Regions from separate parts of the Homo sapiens genome. Here all the other regions are linked to region 3. Evidence: promoter capture Hi-C in human tissues and cell types (Jung and others, 2019). All regions are on one chromosome and are shown on one strand. Each heading gives the region's core, a stretch centred on a gene start or on the middle of the fragment in contact. The rest is flanking DNA. Distances are from core to core; before and after follow the strand shown. Region 1 has its middle 7.8 kb from the start of XAF1. Region 2 overlaps XAF1 (XIAP associated factor 1). Region 3 holds the start of ALOX12 (arachidonate 12-lipoxygenase, 12S type).

The links. Contacts are between HindIII fragments. The study calls those that stand out against the background at their distance.
Region 1: a contact is called between a fragment that was not itself captured here and the fragment with the promoter of ALOX12 in region 3, in 1 of the 25 tissues and cell types used here (lymphoblastoid cells).
Region 2: a fragment that was not itself captured here is called in contact with the fragment with the promoter of ALOX12 in region 3 in 1 of the 25 tissues and cell types used here (H1 embryonic stem cells).

The regions. Positions count from the first base shown.
Region 1 is chr17:6,746,927-6,749,626 of GRCh38, forward strand. No RefSeq gene overlaps it. Among named protein-coding and RNA genes, the nearest start is that of XAF1, 7.8 kb to the right of the region's middle. The HindIII fragment of the contact is 5,886 bases long and covers 1-2,700 here.
Region 2 is chr17:6,764,501-6,767,200 of GRCh38, forward strand. All of the region lies in intron 5 of XAF1 (XIAP associated factor 1), which reads left to right. Among named protein-coding and RNA genes, the nearest start is that of XAF1, 9.8 kb to the left of the region's middle. The HindIII fragment of the contact is 6,608 bases long and covers 1-2,700 here.
Region 3 is chr17:6,994,751-6,997,450 of GRCh38, forward strand. It overlaps ALOX12 (arachidonate 12-lipoxygenase, 12S type), which reads left to right and starts at 1,299. Exons shown (of 14, transcript NM_000697.3): 1 at 1,299-1,502; 2 at 2,076-2,277. The coding sequence starts at 1,368. The region is part of intron 2 of ALOX12-AS1 (ALOX12 antisense RNA 1); the gene reads right to left. The HindIII fragment of the contact is 20,112 bases long and covers 1-2,700 here.

The DNA.
Region 1 (2,700 bases), core at 92-2,591, 250 kb before region 3:
TGAGGTGATGGATACCCAATCCCAATGTGAATATTATGCCTTGCATGTCTATATCGAAATATCTCATGTATTTCATAAATATATACACCTACTATATACCCACAAAAATTAAAAATTAAAAAAATTTCTCATCTCCAAGTTACTCCCCAACTCATTGCAATCATACCGATATTCCCATAAATAATAACTATAAATTCTGGACAAGGTACCACAATAAACAACCTGAATGCACTGGAGGATAAAAAAATACAGATTCTGGAGGGAGTCAACACTTAAGGGAACTGCACTACCCAACGCTTGTGAAAATCCCAACATTAGTTGACACGTGGAAGCAGGAAACTGTATTGAGTGAGTTTCTATTTTCACAGCTTCTAGTATAAGGGCAGAGCACCTAGGCTATCTAAAGCTCTAATAGGGAAGTCACTGTCTTTCTGTCCTAAAGAACCTGAGGACAACCGCAGCAGCTGGAAAGTAATGGTGAAATCTCAGAAAGGAGAGTGCAGAGAGGGGAAGCCTTAAATTCTGCGAATAAACTCTGCCCAAATCCCTGGATGACCCCTGAATTACATACACAGGAGAGAAGTTCTAAGTAACCTAGTTAAAAATCTAAACTGAGTTTGAGGAGATGAATATCTCAATTATACTGATTTAATTATTACACATTGTATACAGGTATAAAGATATTACATGTACTCCCAAAATATGTGTAACTATTATATGTTCTTTTTTTTTAAAGAACACAGAAATTTTAGTCAAGTAAAATAAAGAAATTTTTTTTTTTTTTTTTTGAGACAGAGTCTCGCCCTGTCTCCCAGGCTGGAGTGCAGTGGCCCGATCTTGGCTCACTACAACCTCTGCCTCCTGGGTTCAAGCGATTCTCCTGCCTCAGCCTCCCAAGTAGCTGGGACTACAGGCATCTGCCACCTTGCCCGGCTAATTTTTGTATTTTTAGTACAGACGGGGTTTCACCATATTGGCCAGGCTGGTCTTGAACTCCTGACCTTGTGATTTGCCTGCCTCGGCCTCCAAAAGTGCTGGGATTACTGGCGTGAGCCACTGCACCCGGCCAATAAATTGTATCTTGATCTTGGAAAGAAACAAAAAGAGCCCAAATTGAGACTTGAGAATCAAAGATTGCCTTTGCATCCCGCCAGTTAACTGCCTGCAACAAACAAACAAACAAAAATCAATGGTTTTCAGAGGGAGCTAAAAGAAGCCAGCATCTATACAACATAATATTCACAATGTCTAGAATTCAATCCCAAATTACTTGAAAAGCAAAGAAACAGATAAATGTGATCCCTTCTCAAGAGAACATACAATCAAAAGCCCAATCCAAGATGACCCATATGTTGTAATTATTAGACAAGGATTTTAAAACACCTGTTGTAACCATGCATAATCATGTAAAGAAAAATATATATCTGTAATAAATAAACAAATGGAAAATCTCAGCAGATAAATAAAAACTATACAAATAAACCATGCGGAAGTTCTAAAATTGATTAAAATATCTAAAATTAAAAATTAACAGCAGTTAGAAGATGACAGAGGAGTCAGTGAATTTGAAACTAGATCAACAGAAATTATCTAATCTGAAGAAAAAAAATAAAATAGAAGAGATCCTCAACATCAAAATGTCTAAGACACTTTTAATGAGTCCCAGAGAAAGAGACAAAGAATGGGGCAGAAAAAAATCTTGCAGAACAATGGCTGAAATTTTCCCCAATTTGGTGAAAGACATTAATTTACAGGCACAAGAAATTCAGCAAACCCCAGTCAGGATAAAGATGAAGAAATCTATGTGTAGACAAATCATTATGAAACTGCTGAAAACCAAAGATAAAAAGAAAACCTGATGCCTGTCAGAGAAAAATGACAGATTACATACAGGGGAATGACAACTCAAATGACCATGTACTTCTCACCAGATACTATGGAGGCCAAATAACATTTGTAATGTACTGAAAGAAAAAATAAACTGTCAACCCAGAATTCTACTTCCAATGAAAATAGCCTTCAAGAATTGGGGCAAAATAAAGGAATTTTCAGATAAAAGAAATCTAAAAGAATTCATTGCCAGCTGGGTGCAGTGGCTCACTCCTGTAATCCCAGCACTTTGGGAGGCTGAGATGGGCAGATCACCTGAGATCAGGAGTTTGAGACCAGCCTGGTCAACCTGGTGAAACCCTGTCTCTACTAAAAATACAAATATTAGCCAGGCCCGGTGGTGGATGCCTGTAATCTCAGCTACTCAGGAGGCGAGGCAGGAGAATCACTTGAACCCAGGAGGTGCCGGTTGTAGTGATCCAAGATCATGCCATTGTACTCCAGCCTCTGTGGCAGAGTAAGACTCCATCTCAAAAACAAACAAACAAATAAACAAAACAAAACAAAAAACACCACCACCAACAAAAAGAATTCATTGCCAAAAGACCTACACTACAAAATAAAAAGTGCTTTAGGCTGAAGGGAAATTAAAATGTATGGAAAGACCTTCAGTAAAAACTCTGGACACTAAAGCTCAGGTGAGCTACCTGGCAGGTGATCATACATCAATGTGCTAGGAAGGTGATGCATCCCCAAGCATAAATTAAAATGGAATTCAAAAAAATATTCAAAGAATCCAAAAGAAGGCAAGAAAAGAGGAACACGGGAACAAAACACAAGAGGCATACAGGAAAAATGACAATAATGTTG
Region 2 (2,700 bases), core at 183-2,682, 230 kb before region 3:
CTTACAATAACTTTTTAAAGGGGTACCACTATTGAATATTTATATATCAATGGCCTTGCACGAAAAGAATTTTTTTTTAATTTTGAAAATTAAGGATTGAAATCATGTATACTAGGTGGTTTTGTGGTTTTCAGTCTTTAACTTTTTATTAATATGACCCAAAGCCAGAAAAACATGAAATACTTCTGATCCCATTTCCTATAAGCTACCATCTTGTTTCTTTGTTCCCCTCCGTAGAAAAACATTTGAGCTAGTTGTCTATAAGTAACTGCCTCCATCTTTTCTTCTCTCATTCTTATTCCCACTCCAGTCTGGCTCTCCATTTTAACCAAATCTGCTCTTGTCAAAATCAATGACCTCTGCATTGCTAAATCCAATGCTCAGTTCTCAGTTCTCAATTTATGGGAAGCATTTACTGCTCATCACTCCCTCTTCCTCAGTGGACTTTCTCGGCTTCCAGGGTACCACACTTTCCTGGTTTTCAAGGACATTGGTGGTCTCTCATTCTCTACCTCCCCAGCCTCTTAATTTTGGGGGGCCCCAGGGCTTAGTCTCTGGTCTCTTCTCTACCTATATTCACTGCCTTCATTATTTCATCCTACCTCCTGATTTTTAAAAATGCCATATGTAAGGCCGGGTATGGTGGCTCATGCCTGTAATCCCAGCACTTTGGGAGGCCGAGGTGGGAGGATCACAAGGTCAGGAGATCGAGACCAACCTGGCTAACACAGTGAACTCTCGTCTCTACTAAAAATACAAAAACTTAGCCGGGTGTGGTGGTGGGTGACTATAGTCCCAGCTACTCGGGAGGCTGAGGCAGGAGAATGGCGTGAACCCAGGAGGCGGAGCTTGCAGTGAGCCGAGATCACGCCACTACACTGCAGCCTGGGCGACAGAGCGAGACTCCATCTCAAAAAATAGATAAATAAATAAAAATTTAAAAATTTTTTAAAAAGCCATATGTAGTCAGACACTTCCAAATTTATATCTCAGTCTGGGTTTTTCTCCCCAAACTCTAGATTTGTATATTACTATTTACTGCATCTTCACTTGAATGCTTGATAGACATCTTAAATGTAACACATCTGAAATGGAATCCTCTCTGCCACAGCTTGGCCCATCTCAGTTGATGGCAACTCTATCTTTCCAGTTGTTCAGGCCAAAATCTCAGGTTCACTCTCGACTTCTCTTTCCCTCCGCATTGCTACCCTGGTATGAACCATCATCTTCTCTAGCCCAGATGCTGCAGCAGTCTCCTAAACGGTCTTCCTACTTCTCACCTTGCCCCCTACAGTCTATTCTCATCACAGAGGTCAACGTGATCCCTTAAAAATACAAGTCAGATTGTTTGGCTCCTCTGTTCAGATCTCTGTACTGATTCTTGCCCCATTTTATGCAAACTCAAAACTACAGTGGCTTTAGAGATCTATGTCATCTTTGCCTCCCTTCTTATCTCATCACCTCTTTGATCTCATGTACTACTCCTGTTCAGCTCACTGGCCTCCTGATTGTTTCTTGAGCATACCATGCCTTAGGGCCTTTTCACTGGCTACTGCCTCTGGCTGGAAGCTACCTCCTCACCTTCCCCACCCTACTCCAGGAGCTAACTCTCTCACTTCTCTCAAGTCTTTGCCCAGATGGCACCTTCTCAAGGAGATGTACCACAACAACCTATTTAAAATTGCAACTCCCTCTCCATCACATATTTACCAACCCCTTACCTTCTTCTATTATTTTTTCCATAGCATTTGCCAACTTCTAACATATTATCTAATTTACTTACTTATTATGGCCCTTGTTAATTGTCTCCCACGACCTCAGAAAAACTATAAGCCCCACTGGTCCCCTTCATGCTAACTACTCCCCAGACACAAATACTCTACTTTTGCTTTTAGCTGTTTCTTCTGGTAATCACCTTCATATGTCTAAAGCACCTTCTTATATTTTTTCCAGTTTTAGATATTACTTATTGACTCATAAGGATTTAGGAATATAGATTTCACTTTTTTATACCACCCATCCCACACACACACCTCCAAAGTTCTTCATTTCATCCTTCCAATGTATTGATTTCACTCATTCTGGTTAAATAAATATTCAGTATTACATTAGTATAACCATGTAAACATTATAAATGGTTTTCCACATGAATTGTGATTATGTGTTCTTTCTCCTACAACTTTTTGTTTTACCTGGACTTAATAATTGCTTCGGTTTTTCATTTGCTTCACTTTCTAGGTACCTATCACTAAATCATCCCTAAAATTCTCTACCAGATCTGAAAATTCCCCTGAGTACAACTACACACATCAGATAGTCTGTCCATTTCATTTTGGGAGCATGTTATGCCCCAGGCTTGATGATTAGCTGTTGGTCTGGAATTTCTTCCACTCTCTCCACGGTTGGAGTTCTGATTCCCAAATCTCAGGTCTCATCTTTCTCTTTCTTAGGTTACTCCTTGTTTGATAGAACATATCCCCAAATAGTTTCTTGAGAAAGAAAGCATGAGAGGCAAATTTTTTAGGCCTTATATGTCTGAAAATGAAAGCTTGGGTGGCTATAGAATCTATTGACCATCTTAATCTGTTTATTAAAAATCTTATTACAATTCTGATTTGGCCACTACACACTGTATACATGTATTAGAAAATCATTCTGTATTCTATAAGTATGTATCATTATTACTTGTCCACTAAAAAT
Region 3 (2,700 bases), core at 49-2,548:
ACTTTATTTTTTTATTTTTATTTATTTATTTATTTATTTTTGAGATAGAGTCTGATCTGGAGGCTGGAAGGCGGGGCTAAAACTCCCACTCACTTACCTCTACCAACAACTAGGCCACCAAGTCATTTCTGAGGACTGGCTCAAGAAAGCAGATTTAACTTACACTGGCCTAGCCCAGGCCACCAGATGCATCCACGGAGATCCAAATGCATATAATCACTTGAATCAAGATCTAGACAGGGACGCGTGCAGCAGGCTTCATCTGACTGATTCCTGACACGGGAGAGAAAGCCTAAGCTCCGAATCATCCTTCAATGTTTACAAAGGCCCTAAATAGCAGTGGGCTAATTGCTGTTCCTGGATTTCCAGGAGACCTGAGACCCATGAAGGAGCAGGAAAGAGCTTGGGGATAAAAAATTAATCTGGAACCTACTGGAGCGGAAGGGGCTGCACTCACCTGGAAAAGACAAAGTTCTTGGGAACTGGCCACGTAGGCCAGGTCCCTAAGCAATTCCATCCCGCACCCTAACACCCCGACTGGTGTTCCTGGGTCCCTAACATTGTCTGTACCCGCTTCGGAGGTTGGACAAAATGAGTTTTTCACTGCCCTGCCTCAGGCCTCTCTCAAAGGTCTGGCCCATGATATTTGGTGTACATTGGGACCCCAGCGCCCAGATATTTGAAACGGGGTGGGGAGCGGGTGTTGAGCTGCTACATTTCCAGGTTCTAGGTACCCTGGGGAACCCCTGGTCGTTGACGGAAGCACAGCGTTCAAGGGCGGCAGAGCTCAGGTACTGGAGGACACATGGGCCGCGCCGGGTCTAGCCGCGGGACATCCCCAGACCCCAGCACGGCCTCCCAGGCCGACCTTCCAGAAGCCGGCCCACTGCCTTCCCCGGGTCCCAGCCCAGAAAAGCGGAGACCTTCCCCTCCGTTTGGAAGATGGACTCATCCCCTACTTCCTCCTGGCTCCCCAGAAGACCTGGAGACCTCGGGAAGTGTTCTCATCTATGTTCGCTCCAACCCGGGGGCTCAGGCCCACCTCGATCCCGCCTTCCCGGGAGGTCCAGGAAGGTCCCGCCGCACCCACCCCGTTGGCCTCACCCTGGCTCGGGCCCCTTTATCATCCTGCAGCTACGCTCCGACCAGGAGGCACAGCCAGTCCCCACAGCCGGCTCTACCGCTCTGCTCGCAGGTTTGGGCTAGTCTGGGGCGGGGACTTGGGAGCGCCTAAAACTTGCGAGGAGGGCGGGGCCGCAGACCGGTCCTTTAAAGGTTGGAAGTGGCCCCGAGGCGCCGGCAGCCCTGGGCGGTCCCGGGAATCGCACAGGACCCGGCTCCCCTCGCCTAAGCTGCTGGGGGGCGCCATGGGCCGCTACCGCATCCGCGTGGCCACCGGGGCCTGGCTCTTCTCCGGGTCGTACAACCGCGTGCAGCTTTGGCTGGTCGGGACGCGCGGGGAGGCGGAGCTGGAGCTGCAGCTGCGGCCCGCGCGGGGCGAGGTCAGCGCGGGGAGCGAGGGGAGCTAGGGCAGCGGGGACCCCGGGCCCAGGCCCGGGCCGAGCTGGGCTCGCGGCGGGAGGGCGGGAGGCTGGGGGCGAGGTGACAGCGCGACCTCGCGGACTGGGACTTCCACGAAGCTGGGACGAGGTGGGCAAGATTAGGGACAGGGTCCGCAGCTGGGATCCCGGGCTGGGCTCAACCCCATCTCCCTTTCCCGCCCCTGGTCCCGGCAGCCCCCAGCTCCTTCTCCCAGTGACCCAGAGCCAATGTAAGTATGAGGCCAGAGGTCAGACGTGAAGCTCCTCCAAGAACCGGCGCGGGGAGAGCTCAGTTAATGGGACCCACGTGGGCGATGCTGCTCCAGCATCAGCTCCAGGCGCTGCGGGCCCTCGTCCTCCACCCGACTCCGGGCGTCTGAGACCCAAAGAGCAGGTTGTGCGGGGGCGGGAACGAGGCGATGCTGTCTTTGGAGGCCCTGAGAAACTGAGGTTGCACAGGAGCGCGGCTCTGTCCTCGAAACGGCCTCAGTCGGGTCCCTCCTACTAAGTCTGGCCTGGGTCCGGCCTGCACAGGAGGAGGAGTTTGATCATGACGTTGCAGAGGACTTGGGGCTCCTGCAGTTCGTGAGGCTGCGCAAGCACCACTGGCTGGTGGACGACGCGTGGTTCTGCGACCGCATCACGGTGCAGGGCCCTGGAGCCTGCGCGGAGGTGGCCTTCCCGTGCTACCGCTGGGTGCAGGGCGAGGACATCCTGAGCCTGCCCGAGGGCACCGGTGAGCAGGCGGCGTCGGGGAAGGAGGCACAAGGTCTCGGGAACTGCTGCGGGGCTAGGAGGGCAGAGTTAAGGACGGTCGGAGCAGACTTAGAGGATGTATGGGCCCAGGGCAGGTGAAATGTAGGGATCCCAGGGTGCTGGACAGAAAACGGGAAGGAGTTATGAATTCCCAAAGTTTTACACAGGCTAAGAGAGGCTGCGTGTGAGGCTGGAGGCAGGGAGTAAGTGATCTGGAGATCCCATCTTCCAAGAAGGCAAAGACAGAAAGTGGGAGTTGCAGCGATCCAGGAAAACAGAGAAGCAAAGTGAAAGTAGGAAGGAGATGTAAAGGTGACTCAGAAGTCAGGTGAGGGGACCACATGGAACAGGAGGGGGTGGGTGACCCGTGAGAGCAGACAGCTAAGGGAAGAAAACATAGGAT